4 separate regions of the Homo sapiens genome follow, and regions 2, 3 and 4 are each linked to region 1. The links are contacts of gene promoters, found by promoter capture Hi-C in human tissues and cell types (Jung and others, 2019). All regions are on one chromosome and are shown on one strand. The core of a region is centred on a gene start or on the middle of the fragment in contact, and the rest is flanking DNA. Distances in the headings are between cores, read along the strand shown. Region 1 holds the start of LLGL2 (LLGL scribble cell polarity complex component 2). Region 2 overlaps SAP30BP (SAP30 binding protein). Region 3 overlaps GRB2 (growth factor receptor bound protein 2). Region 4 overlaps GRB2 (growth factor receptor bound protein 2).

The links. The method cuts DNA at HindIII sites, captures the fragments that hold promoters and counts their contacts. A contact is called where the count stands out against the background at its distance.
Region 2: a fragment that was not itself captured here is called in contact with the fragment with the promoter of LLGL2 in region 1 in 1 of the 25 tissues and cell types used here (lymphoblastoid cells).
Region 3: a contact is called between a fragment that was not itself captured here and the fragment with the promoter of LLGL2 in region 1, in 1 of the 25 tissues and cell types used here (mesenchymal stem cells).
Region 4: a fragment that was not itself captured here is called in contact with the fragment with the promoter of LLGL2 in region 1 in 1 of the 25 tissues and cell types used here (dorsolateral prefrontal cortex).

The regions. Positions count from the first base shown.
Region 1 is chr17:75,524,364-75,527,011 of GRCh38, reverse strand. LLGL2 (LLGL scribble cell polarity complex component 2) reads right to left here and starts at 1,315. Exons shown (of 26, transcript NM_001031803.2): 1 at 1,187-1,315. TSEN54 (tRNA splicing endonuclease subunit 54) reads right to left here. Exons shown (of 11, transcript NM_207346.3): 11 at 2,277-2,648. The coding sequence ends at 2,600. RefSeq lists silencers at 1,609-1,793, 1,110-1,829, 1,850-1,949. The HindIII fragment of the contact is 8,139 bases long and covers 1-2,648 here.
Region 2 is chr17:75,705,719-75,708,366 of GRCh38, reverse strand. It overlaps SAP30BP (SAP30 binding protein), which reads right to left. Exons shown (of 11, transcript NM_013260.8): 10 at 2,275-2,359; 11 at 308-2,027. The coding sequence ends at 1,846. Among named protein-coding and RNA genes, the nearest start is that of ITGB4, 14 kb to the left of the region's middle. RefSeq lists an enhancer at 777-1,976. The HindIII fragment of the contact is 8,365 bases long and covers 1-2,648 here.
Region 3 is chr17:75,353,323-75,355,970 of GRCh38, reverse strand. All of the region lies in intron 2 of GRB2 (growth factor receptor bound protein 2), which reads left to right. Among named protein-coding and RNA genes, the nearest start is that of GRB2, 51 kb to the left of the region's middle. The HindIII fragment of the contact is 7,881 bases long and covers 1-2,648 here.
Region 4 is chr17:75,369,686-75,372,333 of GRCh38, reverse strand. The region is part of intron 2 of GRB2 (growth factor receptor bound protein 2); the gene reads left to right. Among named protein-coding and RNA genes, the nearest start is that of GRB2, 35 kb to the left of the region's middle. The HindIII fragment of the contact is 4,452 bases long and covers 1-2,648 here.

The DNA.
Region 1 (2,648 bases), core at 66-2,565:
ATTATTTGCAGAGACGAGGTCTCACTATGTTGCCCAGGCTGGTCTCAAACTCCTGGGCTCAGGCGATCCTCCTGCCTTGGCTTCCCAAAGTGCTGGGATTACAGCTGTGAGCCAATGCACCCAGCCTCAACTGCCACTTCTGACCTTGGCTTCCCCCGGGCTGGGCCACAGCTCTTCTGTGGCAGCTCTGCTCTTCCTACCAGCGTTTCCTTGTCACCTTGACACACCCATTCCCTCCCTGCCCGCTCCCTGCTCAGAATCCTCTCTGTAGCCCCTTCAAGAGAACTCAAGGTTCTCTTGAACTACAAACTCCAGCAGGGGGTCCCTGGAGCCCAGGTTAAGGCTGCCGGCAGTCGCATACGGATCCCCAGGGGAAGGGGCGCCCTCCTCACTCAAAGCTCACCTGTTCAGGTGAGAGCCTCAAAGCGCCACTCTACAGCTCCCCTGGTTAGGTCAGTTCTCCCCACAGCCAAGGCCCAGCGTGTCCACCAATCGTCCAGCCGGAACAAACTAAGACACACTTTCTTTGGCAAGATAGAATTTTCCACTTCTCGCCAAATCCCACAGCGCAAACCCCGCCCGTCAGCATGGAGGGCAGACTGGGTCTCCGCACTGTCATGTGAAGGTGTCCAAAGCCGCCCCAGCTGGAGAAAGGCCGGAGACCGAAGTCCCTCCCGCGGGCTTCCTGCGTCCGGGGATTAGGAGGCACAAAGGGCCGGCAGGGACACAGCCCAGATGGCAGGGGCAGGGGCTAAGCCGCCGGGGCACCGCGCTCCGGCCGCCGCCCGTGGGGAGGGGGTCACCGCAGACGCGCGTCGCCAACCCCGCTGGCCTGGCGCCTGCACGTGGGCCCGGGGACTCCGTCTCTGCCCGCGGTGCCCCCCGCACCCAGCCGGCCGGGGCACCTGTTCTCCTGCTCTCCTAAGCCAACATTATTGTGCAAACCCAAGCCCAAGTTTCAGTCATCGCGCAGATCAGGCAGAGAAGTTTCCCGCAGAACTTTCTACAGGTGTCTCTCTTCCAGGCCAGCACAGCGACGCGGACAGGGGCGAGGCGCGCGGACCTGGGCGCAGCCCTCCCGCCCTGGCCCGACAGCCCAGGGGTCCTGGGCCTCCCTGGCCTCCCCGCCCCAGGTGGAAGCCCCGAGGGGGCGGGCCCGGCTGGGCGAGTCCGGCACGCATCTCACCTGGAACCCCGGGCCAGCCCCCGCCCGAGGCCTCGGCGTCCCTCGGCGCCCGCCGCCGGCCCCGCTCGCTCCGCCGCGCCTGCCCACGGGCTGCTGGGCGGCCGTCTCCTTCCTGCTCACCTCCGGCGCGGCGAGCCTGGGGCGGAGCCGCGCTATTTACATAAAGGGCGAGCCTGCCGGGGCCCAGCGCCCCGCCCCCGGCCCGCCCCCCAGCTCGGCGCCGCAGGGGCGGGGGCACCCTCGGGGGTGGGGGCTGCGCTCCTGCCAATCCGCGGCCCCGGGAAGCGCGGGGCGGGGCCTCGCGAACGGCCTCGGGGTTCCGCAGGCCCGCCCCGGCCTCACCTGCGCGCACCTGGACGCAGAACGGCGCGCCGCGCCCAGTGTCCCGCCGCCTCCCGCAAGCGGAAATAGTTCCCGGAACGCCTGCGGTCCCGGGCCGCCTCCCAGACTCCAGGGGAGCCGTCCCTCCAACTCCCGGGAGCTGCCGAGGGAGGGGCGGATCCGGGCCAGCTCCTCTGCCAGAGCCCAGCCCAGAGAGGGTGACCGGGGGACGCAGGGCCGGGTTTCCAGCCCCACGAGAGGGATGGTGTAGGGACCGGGGCGTCGCGGCGAGACGCCTTTCCTCGGGGGGGGGTGCGGGGGGGCGCCCACCTCCTCCGTGTCGGCCGGAGGGTCTGCAACAGCGGGTGGAATTTTTAGCACAAGCGAGGGAGGAGGTTGGAGCGACGAGAGGCGGGAGCGGAAAGGGCGCGGAGGCCGGGGCTGCAGCGCGCTCCACCGCCCAGCTGCAGGTGGCGCCTCTCGCCACCCGCACCCCGCTGCGCCCAGGGAAGGGCCGATGGCGCGCCGTCCTCCCTCCTCCCTTCGGGAAGCCTGCGACGTCCCATCCCCTCCGACGCAGGCCCGGGAAAGGCTCAAAAGGTTCGAGGTCGCGTTCCTGCTATCCCGCGGGCTTCTCTCACTCTTAGATCCCGCACCAGAGGAAGCGGATCTCCTTGAGTGGGCAAAGCAGGGGTGAGGGGCTGGGGGCAGTTCCACTGACAACGGGACGGGGGCGAGAGGGGTTTACCCAGTACATACAGAAACAGCAGAAAAGAAATCTATTTTTAATGGCTTTGGCTTTATAGCACGAAGCAGGCACCCTCTCGTTAAAGGCACACAGTCCTCTCTTCTGCCCCACCTCCTGGGTCCTTAAAATCGAGTCCTGAGTTCCAGAGGGGTCACTGCAAGGCAGCAGGGAAGGGAGAGGGTCACAGTTTCACTCTGTGAGTATCAGACACCCAGGGCCAAGGCCCAGACTGGCCTCTGAAGCTACAGGTTAGAGTCTGGGTACAGGAGGCAGCCGAGATGGTCCCTGAGAACAGACAGTCCCGGTCCCCCGGAGCAAGCTCCATCCTCTGCAGAGCTGTGAGGTCAGTGCCCCACATCCTGGGGCAACGTGAAGTCCCTGAAGCTGTAGAAG
Region 2 (2,648 bases), core at 98-2,597, 180 kb before region 1:
TAAAAACCTTGACCCAACTCACGAGGCTGGTAAGTGGGGCAGCAGTTTTGGCCTGGGGTTGCCCAACTTCTAAGCCTATGTTCATTCTCCAGGCCCCCTACCTCTGCGGCCCCGCAGGAGACAGTCATTACTGCTTTAACTGGACAGATGAATGGCAGCGCCAGGGCTGCCCAGAGGAAAGCGGGGAGGGGAAAGACCTGCCAAACCCTACCCCGCCGACAGAGCACGAGACGGGGGACAGGCCAGGAGTTTGCTTCTCTCCTTGGTCTACAACAAAAAAAAATTGGATTTAGCCAACAAAAAACACTGGCAGGAACTTTACAGTTTATAAAGCTTTTGCATAAGTCACCTCTGGTTCTTCCCAACCATCTTACGACGCTTTATTACTGTGATTTCAGAGAAGAAACAGGCTTACAGAGGTTAAGGGCTTGAGACCACTCAACTGGTTTTAAGTGGAATCCAGACCAGAGGTGCCGGCTCCACGTCTACTGCCCTTTCCACGGTGCCATGCTGCCTCCCACAAAACATCCACAGTGCCCTTGGCCAATGAGGGGCCGCCATCGGAGGTCACAGGAAGCCTTTTCACAGTCCCTCTGGGGCATGAGTGGGGAGCAGCTCTTCTCCCCAGAGCTTTAAAGCCCCATCGAGGAAGGGGTGAGAACTGACCTCCTGAAGTGCCCGAGTGTGTGTGTACGGGGAGAGTGGACTCAATTTTTATTTTTGAAACCTCATGCACAGAGTTCCTTATATTCCCCAGGTCCCACAAGAGTACCAGGTGCCATTTCAGAACCACCTTTCTAAACCTCTGCCCACCCACTGAAAGCAACACGGCCCTTCACAGCCTGGCTTCCTTCTTTTGACACACAGCCCTTCCGCTCCAGTGGAGAATCGCCAAAGATCATGAAGGGTAAATAGTCTCCTCTGAACCCCTGGTCTGGGAAACCCGTTTCAACCCCGGGGGGAGCCCAGTGGCCACTGGTGCTGCCCAGGGGCTGCTGTGGGGCAGAGATAACACACAGAGGAAGGGTGGGGTGGCAGGAGCCCTCCCAGGAGCAGGGCTTGCCTGTAAACAATGAGCTGCCGCCTCGCCAAGGCAGGAGGTGATTCATCTCCCCCGCTGCTCAGCTCCTGCTGGCTGCGCTCACCGGGCACCAAAGGACTGGGGCAGCCCTGGCCAGGCGCTGACGCCTCCCCACTCTCTGCACAGGTCAGGATCTCACCCCAGCCCTTCTGGAAACTGGCTTGACTTCAAAAGCCTTCCTGGGTGTGTCCAAAAAGTGATCTGGTCTGGGGAGTGCTCAAGTGCACTCAAGGGAGCACAGCTCCACCATCACCCGAGAACTGGCTGGGTTTTGGGATCAAGGCGGCAGATGGGGCATACGTGGGGCTCGGGGACTCCCGCCTGTCCATGCCCAGAGGCATACACGGATAACAACGGTGACTTCTTGGGTCACCCCTCTGAACAGCGTCCCAGGCCTCCATCACCCTGTTGTCAACCCTGAGGCAATAGTCCCAACCAAGACTATTGAGTCTTGGGGGACATGTGAGCTGAAGCATTTGCCTGCAAACAGAATGCAGGAGAGGCCAGTGCATCTGAGATGCCAAGAGGTAAGAATACGGCACTTTTAATAGGCGGCAGACCCCAGGTGGTGCGTGGACAGACCCTGTCCACAGCGCCTGGCTCCCGTGCTGCCTGTCCTTCCATCTGGAATGCCAAACAGAAGCTCCTCTCAGGTGGCATCTGGGGAGTAGGTCCCAGTCCTGAAATATACAAAGTGGCGCCTCCCACTGGGCAGTGGTCACTGGGCTGCACGGTCCTTTCAAGTCCTAGGGTGGCCCCTCAGGTCACTGCTTGGCCTTCTTCACAATGGTGCCCACAGCAGAGATGACGGTGGTCTTGGAGCCGCTGGCGCTGGTGGTGACCGTGACAACAGCTGGCAGGGTGGCTGTGGTGGTGAGGATGGTGGGCTGGGCTATCGTTGTCACTGGGATAGCCGAATCCCACTTGCTCTTTCTCTTCTGAGCATCTGGAGATAAAGCAGAAATCAGGATCACGATCCACCAATGAGCGGTGCCCTCTTTCCCTTCCCCCTGCAGGCCAGCGGGAGTCTAGGGAGCAGACCCCGAAGTGGCCCACCCCAGACTCCAAAGGTGCTTCTCAAAGTAGCAAGGCTGAGCCCAGGCCCAGATCCACGTGCTGTCTGTCGCCCAAACAAGCCAGGGAGACCCTGGCTCCATGTGTGTGGCAGGAGGCAGGGCAGCTCTGCAATCTACCTGCAACAGCTGTGCTGGCAGTGGTAGTGGTGGTGGACGTGGCGTTGGTCGTGGTGCCTTTTTTGGTGCCCGTCACAAACTCAATCTGGAGAGGGAGAGGGAAGAGAATAAGACCAGGCAAAGCTGGGTGTCCACAGCTTTTTGCCATCCGTCAGCTCCTGGGGGACAGGAGCTTGGCACTACACAAAAGAGGCATTGGAAATGAACTCTGCTCTGCCCATCTGGGGTAGGGCGAGATGTCTAAGAAGAACCCAAAGGGGCTTTTCACTCTTAAAAGAACTTTCCAAACAGTACTGTATCCCTCCCGGCATCACCAGGTCTCTGCACATGCCCGGCACCCCCCGCCCACCGCCCCACCTCACATGCCCAGAACC
Region 3 (2,648 bases), core at 85-2,584, 170 kb after region 1:
TAGTCCCAGCTACTCGAGAGGCTGAGACAGGAGAATTGCTTGAACTCGGGAGGCGAAGGTTGCAGTAAGCCGAGATCACGCCACTGTACTCCACACTCCAACCTAGGCGACAGAGCAAGACTCTGTCTCTTTAAAAAAAAAAAAAAAAAAAAAAGAAGAAAGGAAAATTAAGATACATCAATAGGAGAGAGGGATGTATATAGATGGATAGATATGTGACAGAGCAAATAACTTAGGTCAAACTTGTCCAGCCCCACAGCCCGCAGGCCACATGTGGCCCAGGATGGCTTTGAAGGCGGCCCAACACAAATTTGTGCTTTCTTAAAACATTATGAGATTTTTTTGCTTTTTTTTTTTTTTTTAAGCTCATCAGCTATCATTAGTGTTAGTGTATTTTATGTGTGGCTTAAGACCTTTTTTTTTTTCCAGTATGGCCCAGGGAAGCCAAAAGATTGGACATCCCCGATTTATGTGATGGATAAATGTATTCACTGTAAAATTCTTTTCACTTTGCTTTATGCTTGAAAGCTTTTATAACAAGATGTTTGGGGAGGAGGAGAGAACTGGGACAGAGAGTATAGACAACTGTTCCAGAAAGTTTTGATTTAAAGGGGAACAGAGAGATGAGGCAGTAGAGTCAAAAGAAGTCTGCTTTCACCCCACTCCCAGAGATGAGAGAAATGACAGCATTTTTATTTGTTGATTAGAAAAATCCAGTAGAGATTTTAATTAAAATTGATGATGCAGAAGAAAGGAAAATAACTGAGTTAATGTCCTTGAGCAGGCAAGAAGAGATGGGATTCAGCACCTTCGTAGAATTTTGTTTTGCTAGGAACAGGGACAAAAGTACGAGTACAGGTCCTGGCCAGGCGCGGTGGCTCACGCCTGTAATCCCAGCACTTTGGGAGGCCAAGGCAGGTGGATCACCTGAGGTCAGGAGTTCGAGACCAACCTGGCCTACATGGTGAAACCCCGTCTCTACTAAAAATACAAAAATTAGCCAGGCATGTTGGCATGTGCCTGTAATCCCAACTACTTGGGAGACTCCCGAAGTGCTGAGATTACAAGCATGAACTGTGCCCGGCCATAGATCTGTTTTTATTCACTATGGCTGGGTTCTCAGTGCGCCCTTCCTATCTGAAAATTCATATTCATCAGCTATGAGAAGTTAAGTTTTTCCTTTTTAAAAAACATTTCGTAGTGTCTTTTCTTCTATTTTCACTGTTCTCTTTCTGGAAGTTTGAATAATAGCTGTCACATCTTTTGGAAGACTGCAGTGGGCTCTTCCAGCAATTCTTGAATCCAGCAGTCCCCAACCTTTTTGCTACCAGGGACTGGTTTCATGGAAGACAATTTTTCCATGGAAGTGGGGGGTCGAGATGGTTCAGGATGACTGTTCAACCTCAGATCATCAGGCATTAGATTCTTACAAGGAGCGGGCAACCTAGATCCCTCGCGTGAGCAGTTTACAGTAGGGTTTGTGTTCCTACGAGAAGCACTGGCAATGTGGTGAAACCCCATCTCTACTAAAAATAGAAAAATTAGCCGGTTGTGGTGGCAGGCACCTGTAATCCCAGCTACTCAGGAGGCTGAGGCAGGAGAATCGCTTGAACATGGGAAGTGGAGGTTGTTGCAGTGAGCAGAGATCGCACCATTGCACTGCAGCCTGGGAGACAAGAGTGAAACTCCATCTCCCCCCCCCCCCCAAAAAAAAAGACCATGAATAAACTTTGCTTGTACAACTCTGAATACCAGAAAACAATGTCTCTTCCAAGTTCTGAGGGAAAATGCTGTTCAGCCCAGGATTCTGTTGAAATCTATACCCAGCCGAAATAGCCTTCAAGTATAAACATAGAATCAAGACATTTCCAGACATGCAAGGACTCAAAACATTTGCCCCTCACGCACCCTTTCGTTTTTGTTTTTTTTTTGAGACAGAGTCTCGCTCTGTCACCCAGGCTGGAGTACAGTGGTGTGATCTCGGCTCACTGCAACCTCCGCCTCCCGGGTCCAAGCAATTCTCCTGCCTCAGCCTCCCAAGTAGCTGGGATTACAGGCATGCACCACCATGCTTGGCTAATTTTTTGTATTTTTAGTAGAGACGGAGTTTCTCCATGTTGGCCAGGCTGGTCTTGAACTCCTGACCTCAGATGATCCGCCTGCCTCGGCCTCCCAAAGTGCTGGGATTACAGGCATGAGCCACTGTACCTGGCCAGAATTTTTTTTGTTGTTGCCCAGGCTGGAGTGCAGTGGCGCAGTCTCGGCTCACTGCAACCTCTGCCTCCCAGGTTCAAGCGATTCTCCTGCCTCAGCCTCCTGAGTAGCTGGGATTACAGGCATGTGCCACCACACCTGGCGAATTTTTGTGTTTTTAGTAGAGGCGGGGTTTCACCGTGTTGTCAGGCTGGTCTTGAACCCCTGACCTCATGATCTGCCTGCCTTGGCCTCCCAAAGTGCTGGAATTACAGGTGTGAGCCACCGCGCCCGGTAAAAATGGTTTTTTTTTTAAGGGCATAGAAACTCGAGGAAATACAGAAGCCCAACCAGTAAAGGAAGTACAGTTGACCCTTGAGCAACAGAGGTTTGAGCTGCATGGTTCCGCTTATACACGGATTTTTTTCAGTCTACATGTGTGTCAAAAAGACAGT
Region 4 (2,648 bases), core at 108-2,607, 150 kb after region 1:
GTGAACCTTTATTTCCCAAACCCCTTCTTCACCTTTTCCACCTCCAGCCTGTGCAGAGGCAGATAGATACTGGGGACCTGTTGTACTTTGTTCTGCATCTTCACTAGTGGAAATAAGAGTTCTCTTAGGCTCACTGCTCGGGGGTGGCCTGTAAGATGTTCTTGAGTCTAGTGCTTTCTCTTTTAATTTGGGTGCCTTGTGTCATTGGATGTGTAATGTGGTCTCGAGCTAAATGTGCAGACAGCAGCATCTGAGACATATCCAGAGAGCAGAGGCAGCATTTCTTTGAATTCAGCAAAACCATAATTATTGTGTTTTCTTTTCAGAACTGTGTTTTACGCAAATAATCTTCGGCAAAGTCTTACTCTTATTGTAGATACTCATTTTAATTCTGTGTGTTAACTTGCACCACAGTTTTGCATAATTTACTATCCTCCTCCAGAAAGCTCTACAGTGTTCCATTGGTCAACGCTTTTGCCAGTAATGTCAGAAATAATGGGTTGGGTGATCTTACTTTCTATATTTAAACAAAATTTTGTCAATTTTCAGTTAGTTGCTTGTTTTCCCTGACCACTGGGCTATCTCGTATTTCTGGTCTTCAGTCATGTTGTTCCTTTTGTGTGGTGTAACCTTTAGCATTTACGTGCCTTGGCCACCTCTCGTTGCTTAGAACAGACCCAATCTCCAGAAGGTTTTCTGGGTGTTCTTCTTTTCCCTCGGGTTCCCCTTTGCTGCCCCGAGCACCATTGTGTACCTCTTGCCACAGTGTGCTTTTGTTACTCCATTTCACAGTAGGTTCCTCTATCAGCATCTTGCACAGTTGCCTAGCAACATAGTTTAATGTGTTGGAGGCAAGAAGGGAGGAAATTCACACCATGTTCATCCTACTCAGTGTGAACTGAGTCTATAGTTGATATCCTCTTTGTGTCACTCAATGTTGTCCTGCCTGAGTTCAGGCTTGGTTCTTACGTTGCGGCAGCTCTTTTGCCTTTATTTAGGCAACAGACCAGAAATAGAAACCCTTGAATTTTTTTTTTTTTATTCCTTTATTTTCCTTGCCAGCACCTTGGTTAGATTTCTTAACTACTTTTTTCTTGAGTCTTTGTAAAGTATAATTACACTTTACTGTGCTTACGATCTAAAGAATACTTAATCAGTGTTATTTTTTATTTTTATGTTTTATTTTTGTATTGATTAGGTCTTGCCATGTTGCCCAGACTGGTCTCGGACTCCTGGACTCAAGCAGTCCTCCCACCTTGGCCTCCCAAAGTGCTGGGATTACAGGCATGGGCCACCACACTTGGCCTCACTTTTATTTCTTAAAGTCACTGCCCAATAAACATTCCAAGTTTCCACTAGTTTTTGTTTTTGGACATTTGTTCCATCCAACATCGTGGTGGCATTATATTTTAGTAGATTGTCCAAACATGGGTAAGAAAGATCAACTATGAAAGGAGGTGTCGAACACATTGGCTTTCCCACCTGAATTTGTTCTTTATTCTTTGGATGTATAAAAAACAAGAATAAAACTCACAGGGAGAGTTTGAAGGAACTGTGAAGATTCGTTCTAATTTACATAGTTTACACAACCCATAGCCCTAGGGAAAGTGCCAAAGAACAGCTTTGCAGAGGACTGAAGTCCTCCTGGGAAGAAGAGTCCCTTCGCATCAGATGGCTCTCTTGAGTTTACTTTGCTGCTAAAAAAGTGAGCTGGATTGAGGGGAAGGTTTTCTATTTTTCAAGCTTTGCCAGAACACTTGGCTTAACAAACAGCTGTTTGAAGTCTTAATTGTGTCTCTGTATTTCCAGGGACGCGTTCTGACCTCTTATTAGCAACACAGCTAGGGCTGGCTGGCATGCTTTGTGGTGCCAAACATAGCTGTACCAGCCTGGAAGGTATCCAAACCGAACAAGATATTGAAGTCAGAAGGAACAAGTGGTACAAATTCTCTCTTAGTCAGAGTTTGGAAAGCCTTCGTATTGAAATTCATGCGGACAGATTTGACACACTTCTGAAAATTTTTTTCATCAACTGACATTTCAGTTCTTCCAGGCCTGGAATAGTGGGTTTCAGTCAACAAGGCACCAATATCTTTTTAAATTTGCCCATAGTAGCCAGCTTTTGGGGTGTATGAATATTAGTGGCAGCCTTGGAGCTTGAACGTTGCATCAATGACCTCTGTTAACAGCTAACCATATGATATCCACAAAATAATGAATTTACATTTCTCATGGGCCCTGGCTTTAGCCATTACCTCGAGAGTCAGTCTGAGCATCACTTTTAAGCATTCATTCATTGAGTGTCCCTGTCTCTTAGTACTGTGATGGTCCATGTTTTGAGTAAGTAATGCCATCCTTCAAGCAAAGGAACATATATATGCTTTGAGTTGTTTTTCTGGTAGTGGTAGGTACATTTGCATCAGAGTCAGTAAGTTCTTAAATACCATCAGCCATAGTCAAAAACAGTTTTTTTTTTTTGAGACGGAGTCTCTGTTGCCCAGGCTGGAGTGCAGTGGCACGATCTTGGCTCACTGCAGCCTCTGCCTCTCTGGTTCAAGCAATTATCCTGTCTCGGCCTCCTGAGTAGCTGGGGACTACAGGCATGCACCCCCACACCCGGCTAATTTTTTTTTTTTTTTTTTTGGTGG